2 separate regions of the Homo sapiens genome follow, and region 1 is linked to region 2. Evidence: promoter capture Hi-C in human tissues and cell types (Jung and others, 2019). All regions are on one chromosome and are shown on one strand. Each heading gives the region's core, a stretch centred on a gene start or on the middle of the fragment in contact. The rest is flanking DNA. Distances are from core to core; before and after follow the strand shown.

Evidence for each region. Contacts are between HindIII fragments. The study calls those that stand out against the background at their distance.
Region 1: a contact is called between a fragment that was not itself captured here and the fragment with the promoter of CD300LB in region 2, in 4 of the 25 tissues and cell types used here (adrenal gland, psoas muscle, spleen and 1 more).

What each region holds. Positions count from the first base shown.
Region 1 is chr17:74,566,183-74,572,009 of GRCh38, reverse strand. It overlaps CD300H (CD300H molecule (gene/pseudogene)), which reads left to right and starts at 4,501. Exons shown (of 4, transcript NM_001405511.1): 1 at 4,501-4,661. RefSeq lists enhancers at 1,694-2,423, 2,424-3,154. The HindIII fragment of the contact is 7,027 bases long and covers 1-5,062 here.
Region 2 is chr17:74,529,761-74,535,356 of GRCh38, reverse strand. CD300LB (CD300 molecule like family member b) reads left to right here and starts at 3,882. Exons shown (of 4, transcript NM_174892.4): 1 at 3,882-4,046. The coding sequence starts at 4,007. It overlaps LOC107985074 (a long non-coding RNA gene), which reads right to left. Exons shown (of 3, transcript XR_007065902.1): 2 at 2,716-2,810; 3 at 478-682. It also overlaps a transcript of CD300C not described here. The HindIII fragment of the contact is 14,743 bases long and covers 1-5,241 here.

The DNA.
Region 1 (5,827 bases), core at 300-2,799, 39 kb before region 2:
TCTTCTTCTGATAAGGGCACTAATCCCACAATGAAGGCCTGATCCTCATGACCTCATCTAACCCTAATTACCTCCCACAGGCTCATTTCCTAATATCACCACATTACGGGTTAGGGCTTCCACATATGAATTTTTGGGGGAACTCATCAATCCATAGCAGACACCCAGAAGCAGACTTTGTTGTGTTGTTAATTTCCCCTGAAGATACTTCCTGCTATTCTGCAAACAGATATTGAATGAAATAAGACTTGGAGGCCTCTTCCACTTGCCATCTCTCAACCCATCTCACCCCTGCCTGAGTGTTGCAATCCGTACCTTGCATCATGAGAGCCAGAGGTGGGACCCCACCGAAGACCTGGGTTCAAATCCTGACCTCCCCACTTCCCATCATGACAGTTTAGTTCGTCTTTCCAGCTCCAGTCATCTTATTTAAAAGTGACCTGGCAGGGGTGTTGGGATGGGTATGCAGGATTTAAATATACAGAGTGCATGGTACGTAGAAGATCAAAAGAGGAAAGTTTCCCAGAGGGATGCCACCACCTTCAAATGCCTTTGCTCAACTCCTGGGACTGAGCAGGGTGAATATTTTTATTCCTATTTCACAGATGAGGAGACTGATGCTAAGAGACTTTTGCTGATTTGCCTAAAGTCATATAACTAGTGAACAGCAGACCTTAAAATCTGAGCCAGGGCTCCCAGCTTATGGCCAGAACCTTCCTCACTGTGCTACATGGCCCACATCATCAGAGTCAGGTAGAGACCCTCTCTGAGCCGGGCTCCCTATAGCACCCCAGCCCCCATGTTGGGAAGACCCTCCCCACACCCTGCTCCCTAGAGAGCCCTGTATTTGTAACAAGATCCCAAAGAGGCATCCATTGCCCAGAGCCGGTCAGGAGGCTGCCCTCTTGGTGACGTCTCCCTTGAGTGCCAGTGGGGAGGGAAGAAAGTGGGCAGTGGGGTCCACCATCCTTGGGCACTTGCCCATTCTCACCATGATGCACAAGATACTGAGAACTACTCCCCAAATGGATTGACGTCGGGTAGTAGAGGTGAGAGAAGAGAGGCCCAATGCCTTAATACATTCCTGATCCCCTCCCCTGGAAAATATGGAAGGATCGGAGCTCTCACCCTCCAATTCAGCTCACAAGGCTGGGGCCGAGCTCTGTCTGCGTCTCCGGGTGCCCAGATTGGTCCTGCCTTTGTGGAGGCTACAGCCTCACCTGGAAATGGATGCCATGCAACAGGACAATGACAGCACAGGGACATGAGATTAAATACAGAAATAAGCATTGCAGGTAACAGGAACCCCAGAGGGAGGGGTCTGGAAGGCCTGGAGCAGGCAGGGATGCCTTCCAGGAGAGGTGTGGTCTGAGCTCATCCTGGGAGAGTGAGAAGGGAGGATGACGGTTTTCGAGGAAGCAGAAAGACAAGCACAGCCCCGAAAGGCAGAGAGAAATGTGTGGGCTACTCACACTGTCCTACACATCACATGCCCCGAGTTTGCCCTAAGAACGCACCCCTCACTGATGAGATCTTAACTTTCTGGAAGCCCCAAGAGCTGTCCCTCAAGGGCAGCGATGGTGGGGGTCTCAGTGTGGTGCAGTGCCAGGCAGGGCCCCGGGCTCCCCGCCCTCCTGTGCCTCATGGCCAGTGTTCATTATTCTCAGTCCTCCCCTAGCTCTGCCCTCCTGGAGCGGACAGCATTTTCCAGGACAGGTTTCAGAGACAGAAGGACAAGGGCCTGCTGGGGAAGGGACAGCGGCTCCAGATGCTGGCCTTGACATGGAAAAAGCCTGGATGTCCCAGATGTGGGTCATCTCTTCAAGGAATTTGTCATCTCCTGGGGGACTCCAGGGCCCAGAGTACATCTGCTTCAAAGGTGGGTTCCCTGTGGCATTGCCATGTCCTTTGCATTTGGCAAACTGTCTGGTCCTAGCTAAAAAAATGAAACACACACAGGCTGTTTCTAAGCAGACCCTGCAGCCTCTCCCTGCCCCGACCTTGGATGAGCGAGAAGCACGGAGTCGGTGTGCTGCGGGGCACCCTTCCAGCCCGGTTAGGGAACCTCCAGTAGTGGGTTCTGTGGTTGTGGTCAGTGACTTGCCGCCTTGTCCTGTAAGAGGACTGTGCTTCTCCTTCCCACTGACTTCAGGCTTGACCCTATGACGATGAACGGTGAGCAGGAGCCGCATGTGCGCCTTCTGAGCAGAGGCTCAGAGAGCCACCCGGTGCCTTCCCTCTCCTCTAGCGGACTGGGCTCCGCAGCCTGGTGCCCAAGCAATGCTGACTCACCGCTTGCGTATAGACGAGCGAGAAACAAGCTTCTGTGGTTACAGCATGCTGGGATTAGGAGTTTTGCTATGGCAATGTGAGCCAGAAAGAGCTGACTAATACAACCCTGTGCACCCGGTGGTTTGTCCAGACAAGGATGGCGAGAATGTTTTCTGGAAAAGTCTGCAGCTGTGCGTCATCTCCTTCACAGACTCAGATCCCTTCTTCCCAAGAAAGGCACGTTGAGCAGCCCTTGACGCAGAGTCAGGGAGGGCCAGGCAAGCCTTTCCTTAGCGCCCAGAGCTAGGCACAGAGGGCGGGGCTCGCAACCGGCTCTGCAGGCTGCAAGGGGAGACATCTTTATCACTCCCAGCTCCTGCTTCCCCTCCACACACATGCACGCACCAACCCACACACCACACATATACACCACATGTACACACACACACACCCATACACCTCCCCACGCCCACACATGCACACACCACCCCACACACCACACACATACGCCACATGTAGACACACACCACCCACACCCCCCACACATGCACACACATACACACACCACACACATACACCACATGTACACACACACCACCCACACCCTCCACGCCCACACATGCACACACATACATACACTACACACATCACCCCACATACCACACACATACACCACACACCACCCCACATACCACACACGTACACCACACATGGACACGCACACACCACATACACTCCCACACATGCACACATATACACACTACACACACCACCCAACACACCACACACACGTACACACATACACACTACACACATCTCATCTCATACACACCACTCACATCACACACACCACACACACATTACACACACCCTACCCCACATACTGTACATATACACCACATGTACACACATCTCACACCACACACGTGCACACACATACACACTACACACACACCACCTGTGCACACACACCACACACACATGCAAACACACACACTACATGCACCCCACCCCACACATCACACACATACACCACATGTACACACATACACACACTACACACATCCCACCCACACCACACACACCACTCACACCACACACACGACCCCAAACACCACACACATACACACACACTACACACATCTCACACACACCACTCACACCACACATACACACACACTACACACACACCATCCCACACACCATGCACATACATCACATGTACCTACATACACACATACCACACATACTACACACACTACCCACACCACACACACTACACATATATCCCTCATACCACACCCATATACACACATGTGAACACACACAGAAATATGAGGACTCCACATGCAGCAAAAAATGAACAAGCAGGAAACACATTTACTGAAACACCAAGGAGGAGACATTTGATAACAGAATGCCAGGAATTTGGAGTCTCCTAGTTCCAGAAATCTAAGTCCCTGAGTGAGGCCTTCTGAAGCTGTGCTTGCATTTATAAATCCTCCACAGCCATTCTGTGTATATCAGGCACACTTCTGGCCAGGTTCCCCCGAGTTAGCTCTTGATATATTGAAACTCTTATATGTGGTCATCTTGGGCGACAGGAAGAGCCACACAGGTCAAAAGCAAGGCTTATAGATGGTCCACCAAGCTCTGCGTGGTGCCAGGTCTGTGGAAACAGTCAGGCACGTGGCCAAGACAGGGACCTCTGGGGTCTGCTGAGGTCAGAGCAAGAGTGAGGGGTTAAGAGGTCAGAGCCTCTGAGGTTGCACCCAGCCTATCTGTACCACCAAGGATCAGAGATAGACCAGCGGGCATCGTGGGTGTGCCCCTACCCTGTGCAGTCTCGCAGGCCCGGCTCTTAGAAGGGTCCCACGTTTCATGCTTGGCTGTCACCATCTTGAAATTCTTAATAATTTTGGAAACCTAGGTTTGATTTTACACTGGGCTCTGCAAATAGCCAGTCTCATCCATCCAGTGAAGGCTGAGCCATACCCTGGGGCGGCTCATGCTGGCCACAGAAAACTGGCCATTCACAGAGGGGAGGACCTGCCCAGAAAATCCAGATGGCAGCTGGCCCAGTCTCACTGGTCCTGGGCCATGCTGTGATTTGGAGAAGGGCAGGCCTGTCAGCTGTGGGTAATGGGAGGGACATTGTCTTTACTGGGAACAGAAAGAGGAACAGCAAATGCAAACATGTTTTATTAGGAAGAACTTCAGCAAGTTCTCAAAATTGTTTCACCTGACCACATAGTGCCCCATGGCCCCAGCTTCCTCCATACTCTCACCAGCTCTGAGAACCAAACCCAGAAGAGGCCAGAGAAGGAAACGAGAGATGTGAGAAGGAAAAAGAGCCTCAGACCCTGCTGCCACAAGGGACTTCCATGCTGGTGAGATGACCCAGAGGGCTGGGGCTGCCATGCTGCCTTCAGCTCTGCTCCTTCTCTGTGTCCCAGATGAGCAGGGCAGGTCCTGGGTGCAGGGAGGTCTGCTCTGGCGGGTCAGGGTGAGGCAGGCATGAGAAAAGGCTGGCGAGGGGCAAGAGGAAGAAATGATATCAAGAAAGAGGGAGTGAGGTGTGCATAGAAGCTTCTCAAATCTCCTTATCGGGATAGGGTGGGGATTAAACGGTAAACTGCTTCCCACACAGTAAGCCCTAAGTAGATTTGGCAACTTTAATCATTATTACCGTCATTATTAAGATCAGGAATGCCACCACGATCCATCAGAGAGAAGGGGGAATAGGGGACAGAAAACCAGTACTTACTAGGCTAATCACTGTAATACATATCTTGTTTCCCACTATCTCATTTAATTCTTATTGCAATCCTGATGAAAACAAGAGACCGAAGCTCGCTCTTAGAGGTGCAAATAATTTAGATTAAACAGTTTATAAAAGGCACAGTCAAGGTCCAAACCTAAATACTTTTATTTCCAAGATCATTGCTCCTTCTCTAATTCAATGTCAATGTCTGCTGCGCCTCCTTGTAAAGCTTCACTTACATATCTGGAGGCATATGCTGCATCCCCACGTGGGAACCCTGGGTGTCCCCACAGGTCTGGGCTGGCCCCAGGGCTGCTACTTAATGGGCCCCCAGAAGGGTGAGACAGCTGGGAACCTGTGGTCAGCCCTGGTCCGAGAGTTTCCGTAAATGATGGTGGAGGGAGAAAGTCAGTTTCTTTGCAAGGCTGGGTAGGCGGGAAGCTCCGTAAAAGATGGTGGGGGTGGAGGTGGAGGAGGCTGCCCATGTTGGCTCAGAGTCAGGGTCTGGACTGAATATCCAAGGAGAGGGAGGCTCTGTGGTGGGATTCAGTGTGTGCCCCACAATGTTTTTGCTCCTTGTGGAATTAGCCCCAAATCATTAAGAGAGAAGTTTAAGGACCTGAAAGAGCAGGCTAACAGCGCCCCCAGAGCCTGAGCTGAGAGCAGCAGCGATTTCAGGAGAGGACTGGGTGTGCCCACCCCTTCCTTGCTCCTAAGCCTGTGCCTGGCAGGCAGTTAGCTCCCTGGGAAAGCTCGTGGACCTCAACACTGTGGACATTTGGGGCTGCGTTA
Region 2 (5,596 bases), core at 2,633-5,132:
GCTGGGATTACAGGTGCCTGCCACCATGCCCAGTTAATTTTTTTGTATTTTTAGTGAAGACGGGGTTTCACCATGTTGGTCAGGCTGGTCTTGAACTGATGACCTCGTGATCCATCTGCCTCAGCCTCCCAAAGTGCTGGGATTACAGGCATGAGCCACCGCGCCCCGCCCCATTTTGTGGCATCTTTTATTGCATTTTCAAGTTATTCATTGCATGCATGTAGATAAACAATTGATCCTTACTGATTATATATATTTAGCAACTCTGCAAAAAATCTTAGTAATTGTTTTCAGTTTTATATGTAGATAATCAATTAATCTAGAATAATTTAGAGCTTTGTTTTTCTTTCTAATTCTCATGTCTTTTGTTTCTCTTTCTTGTTGTATTGTGCAGGCTAATCAAAGTGTTGAATCAAAGTAGTGATTTTGAGCAATCTTGTCCTCTTCCTGATTCTAAAGGAAAGATTTTGCCATGGGTTGTAATGGGTTGCTTATAGGCACCTTTTAATTCCTAGTTTATCATGAAAAGTAATGGATTTCAGATAGTGGTTTTTGTGCGTTTACATGATTATGTGGGTTTTCTTCTTTATTCTATTAATGTGATTCATTATATTAATTTTTTTAGATGAAGCCTCATTCTGTCACCCAGGTTGGAGTGCAGAGAAGACGATCTGTTACCCATCTAGAAAGAGAAGTGAGAATAAAAGCATTATTTTAGTCTCCTTCCTTTCAGTATGTGATCCAGGATGGAGAACACAGTAGGGGGCGTTCCCCCAACTATTTTCTTTCCCTGGTTCCTGGATCCTGGCACCCATTTAAATGTGCTGGCCATGACTGCAGGCGTGACCCTCCAAGCCATGGCACCAGAGAAACTAGACTTCTGGGCCCACTTACACTTCCACAAGCACCTTAGTCTTTTATTTCTTTTTGACCTCCTGTGTGACCTGTGTGCTTCCCTAAAAAACAAAACAAAAAAACAACGATTTTAAGAAAAACTACGGGCCAGGTGTGGTGACTTATGTCTGTAATTCTAGCACTTTGGGAGGGCAAGGTGGGTGGATCACCTGAGGTCAGGAGTTCAAGACCAGCCTGGCCAACATGGTGAAACCCTGTCTCCACTAAAAATACAAAAATTAGCCACACATGGTAGCGGGCACCTGTAATTCCAGCAACTTGGGAGGATGAGGCAGGAGAATCACTTGAACCCGGGAGGTGGAGGTTGCAGTGAGCTGAGATCATACCACTGCAATCCAGCCTGGGTGGCAAGAGCAAGACTCCATCTCAAAAAAAAAAAAAAAAAAAAAAAAAAGGAAAGAAAAGAAAAGAAAAAAAAAGAAAAACTACATAATTGGGCAAAGCCTCTTTAAGGGAGGGGGCGTGCTAGATTGAACTTTATATCTTGCTATTATTATGGCCTGTGCTAAAGCATTTACCCTTAGAAAAATGGTTCTGGTTAACTTCTGGACTTAAAAATCCCCTTACTAATTAAGTACCATCTTAATCGGAGACAGAATAGGTGCCTTAAAGGAATGTAGGAACCGAATGGCCATTTTCCTGCCAATGGGACAATATTGAGACTAAAATTTGGCTATGGAAGACTTCTTAACTCCTAACTGCTAAAGGCAGAACTTTCCCATTTCAAGAAGAGGCCTAGAGCCTGATTTCTTTTTCTTTTTTCTTTTCTTGTTCTTTCTTTCTCTCTCTCTCTCTCTTTCCTTTTCTTTTCTTTTCTTTTTTTTGAGACCGAGTCTTGCTCTGTTGCCCAGGCTGGAGTGCAGTGGCGCGATCTCGGCTCACTGCAAGCTCTGCCTGCCGGGTTCACGCCATTCTCCTGCCTCAGCCTCCCGAGTAGCTGGGACTACAGGCGCCCGCCACCACGCCTGGCTAATTTTTTTTTGTATTTTTAGTAGAGACGGGGTTTCACTGTGTTAGCCAGGATGGTCTCGATCTCCCGACCTCATGATCTGCCCGCCTCGGCCTCCCAAAGTGCTGGGATTACAGGCATGAGCCACCGCGCCTGGCCGAGCCTGATTTCTAATCATGCAAAAAGAAGCTGCGGTTTGCCATGAAAAAATATGCTTTATGTAGAGGATTTCTATTTCTACTAGGTGGCACTGTTGGCTTAGAAATACTATGTGCTCACTAGAGACGTGGTAGTGAGTAACCTCACGGTGGGAGAAAGGGGAGAACTCTGTTCCTAGAAGATTGCAAGGGCATCTTCCTGATTTTGCCTAACAGGATTACTTTCCTAGGCTGTAAAACTCGCTACACATTTCACACAAAGAAAGTGTAAGAGACCGCAGATAGAGAAGGAAGGAGAGTTTTGTGACAAGATAGTTGAGGATTCTTTGCCAACACCCAGAATGGGCCGCCAGAGGCTGGGTCCAGTCCAGGGGCCTTTGAATCATGCCAGGGTGTGCTCTGGCCAGAAATTGTTAGTTGCCTTAGAACTTTTCCCAGCCTTGCACAATGGCGAGGTCTTCCCGTGAAAAGAAGCTGATTTAAAACATGGCCAACATTCCCAATGACCCAGGGGTGTTGGGGGGTTCTCCGTGTTCTCAGCAGCAAGCCTCACATTCGAGTCTTCAGTATGGCAGCCAACACTAAGTGTATGTACCCGGCTGACGGATGCCCATTGACTTATTTTATTTTAAAATAGAGGCTAAGAGTGCCTCGGAATGATAGAAGAGATTTTAAGCTCACTCCCATACTTACCACTCCGATGAGTGTCGTACCTTGGATTCCCGGCCAATGCAACAAAATGGTATGGCTCTGATGACTGGAGGAACACTAGGGTCCTTGGTCTCCCACTGGTTTGAATAAAACAACATGGGCACACGTGGAGTGGTTTTAAGGAGTGGAGAATTTAATAGACAAGAAAGAAGGAAGGAAGAGGCTCCCCCTGTTCTGAGACTGAGGGAGGCGGGCTCCAAGCTGAAAGAGGGAACCTCGAGTACGGTGGAAAACAGCCAGTTATATGAGGAGGCTGGAGGAGGCGGTACCTGATTTGCATAGGGCCCAGGGGATTGGTTTGACCAGGTATGTCATTCAAGTAGCCCACGAAAAAACTAGCCTTCCTACCCTAGCCTTTTAATATGCAAATACAGGCGCCATGATGTTCTACACACATGGGTGTATGTAGGGGCGGCCATGTTGCCAGGAACGTGGGGAAAAGAAGAAGAGGCGGGAGTCTCCATGTTTGGGTGGACGCAGTTTCTAATGGCCTGTATTTGCATATCAAAGCTTGCCTGCCCAGCTCTAAGAGCCAGGGCTTTTCTTCTAGACAAGAAACATTTATGGAGCTGCTTTAAAAGAAAAAAAAATCTTCCCAAGCACCCCTTTTCCTATCTACCTAAAATAATTTCTTAATAACTCCTATAACAACAACAAACATTATGAGCCCAGTTAATAGATACAATAACTGAGGCACAGAGATGTTGATTGCATTGTCCACAGTCACGCAGCTTGTAGGTGGTGCTCGTGGGGTTAGAGCCAGGTCTGTCTGACCCAACAGTCTGCATGTTTATGCACTTGGCTATAACACCTGAACAAATGCATGTTCAGGTGTGCCCAGCATGACCCATCCGACATCTGAGTTGGGTGTTCACTGTGGTATAGAACAGCTCTGAAATTGACTCCCAGAGTGTTATACCCCTTGGACCCAAGGCCTGCTAGGCCAGACGCCCCCCACCCCACCCCTTCTGCAGACGTATCTCCCCCTACCCTAAAGACCCTGCACAGTCCCCTCCCTCCTCTTTTTTACATAGTGACGATGCTTAAGCCCTGTGGCGCAGCCCTGCCAAAAAATGACACCTCTTTCGTTTAATAATTAAAAGCAGGAACTACCCACTCTATAAAAGGAAGTGAATGAGTAAGAAAGTCAAAGGCGGTCTAGATGTGCAGAAGGTGCAAGCCAGAGCTCAGGCAGAACTTCCAGAGTGCATCTGGGATCTGCATTTGCCACTGGTTGCAGATCAGGCGGACGAGGAGCCGGGAAGGCAGAGCCATGTGGCTGCCCCCTGCTCTGCTCCTTCTCAGCCTCTCAGGTGAGTGGGGCTGGGGCCTTGGGCGCTTGGTATGACAGGGGCAGGGCAGGAGGCAGAGGGCATTTGTCCTTCCACATCCAGGGAAATGAGAGGTGGCTTTGTGAAGTCATTCGACAAAGGTGCACTGGGGACTGACATCGTGTGCTTCGGGGCCTGAGGACATCAAGAAAAAAGAGGAGGAGAACTGGCCATTAAAGAAGACTCCAGGCTTGAGGCCATGGCTCACACCTATAATCCTAACACTTTGGGAGGCCAAGGTGGGAGGATTGCTTGAGTCCAGGCGTTTAAGACCAGTTTGGGCAACATGGTGAGACCTCGTCTCTATATAAAATGAACAAAAATTAGCTGGGCGTGGTGACCGTGCCTGTAGTCCCAGCTACTTGGGAGGCTGAAGCTGGAGGATCCTTTGAGCTCAGGTATTCAATTCTGCAGAGTTATGATCGCACCACAGCACTCCAGCCTGGGTGATACAGTGGGACCTTGTCTCAAAAAAAAAATAAAGTAAAAAGACTCCAGATGGCTTAGTGGGTGAGACATACACATAAACAATGAGCAATTGCAGGACACAATAAGGCATTGGTGGAGGCGTGTGCGGAGGATGAAGCAGTTCTCTCTGGTGACTAGAGAAAGACTCACGAAGCTGTGCACTTGATGTGCCTTGTAGAAGGAAGGTCAGTCTCTGGAGCAGAGCTGAGAGGAGAACACTCTAGAGAGTTGGGTGTGTGTGTGTGTGTGTGTGTGTGTGTGTGTGTGTGTGTGTTGGGGGACCTGGGCAGAGAGATGGAGGCTTAGAAAGAATGGTGGATTCATGCAGAGGGAGCTGTCAGTGTGCAGGATGTCTTGGAGGTGGCGAGTTGGATATGAGGTTGGAAACACAAAAGACAAGATTATGAAGGCCATCCACGCCAGGCTCAGGAGCTGAGACTTTCAAAGAAAAAACTTCTCAAGAACCCAGGTGGAAAGTGGGAAGGGCTAGATGATCTTCTCCATGGCAAACCTTGGTGGACACCTAGAGGGCATTAGGGGACAATCTAGAATTTTACGCAGGGTGTGCAATGTGTGTGGGCCACACAGTTTTCTGCTGGTGCCTAGGGACTGACCATCTGGCACAGATAGAGCAGTCCACGGAGGGACAACAGGAAAGAGCATGGCTGGGGAGTTCTGAGACCCGACTCCAGTCCTGGCTGGACTTCCACCCTTCAGCCCGTTCAACGGGGCTCTGCTCCAAGCTGACGGCTGCCCTGTCATTTCCATCTCTATCGTTCCTCATACCAACTCTTGACAACATATAGAAGCCTGATTAATAGTTCCAGCCATCATATTCTGTGGTTAGAGAAACCCCCAAATATTTTTTTAAACGGGACTAATTACATCGTGAGCCATTTACAGTTTGAATGACTGAAGCTGGGATTGATGACACTTTGTTCAATGCAGCAGCATCTCTTTTCTGCTGTTAGTGATTGCTGACAAATCCAATTTATGTTTTTGGGTATTTTGTTTTTGTTTTTGTTTTTTGTTTTTGAGACGGAGTTTCACTCTGTCACCCAGGT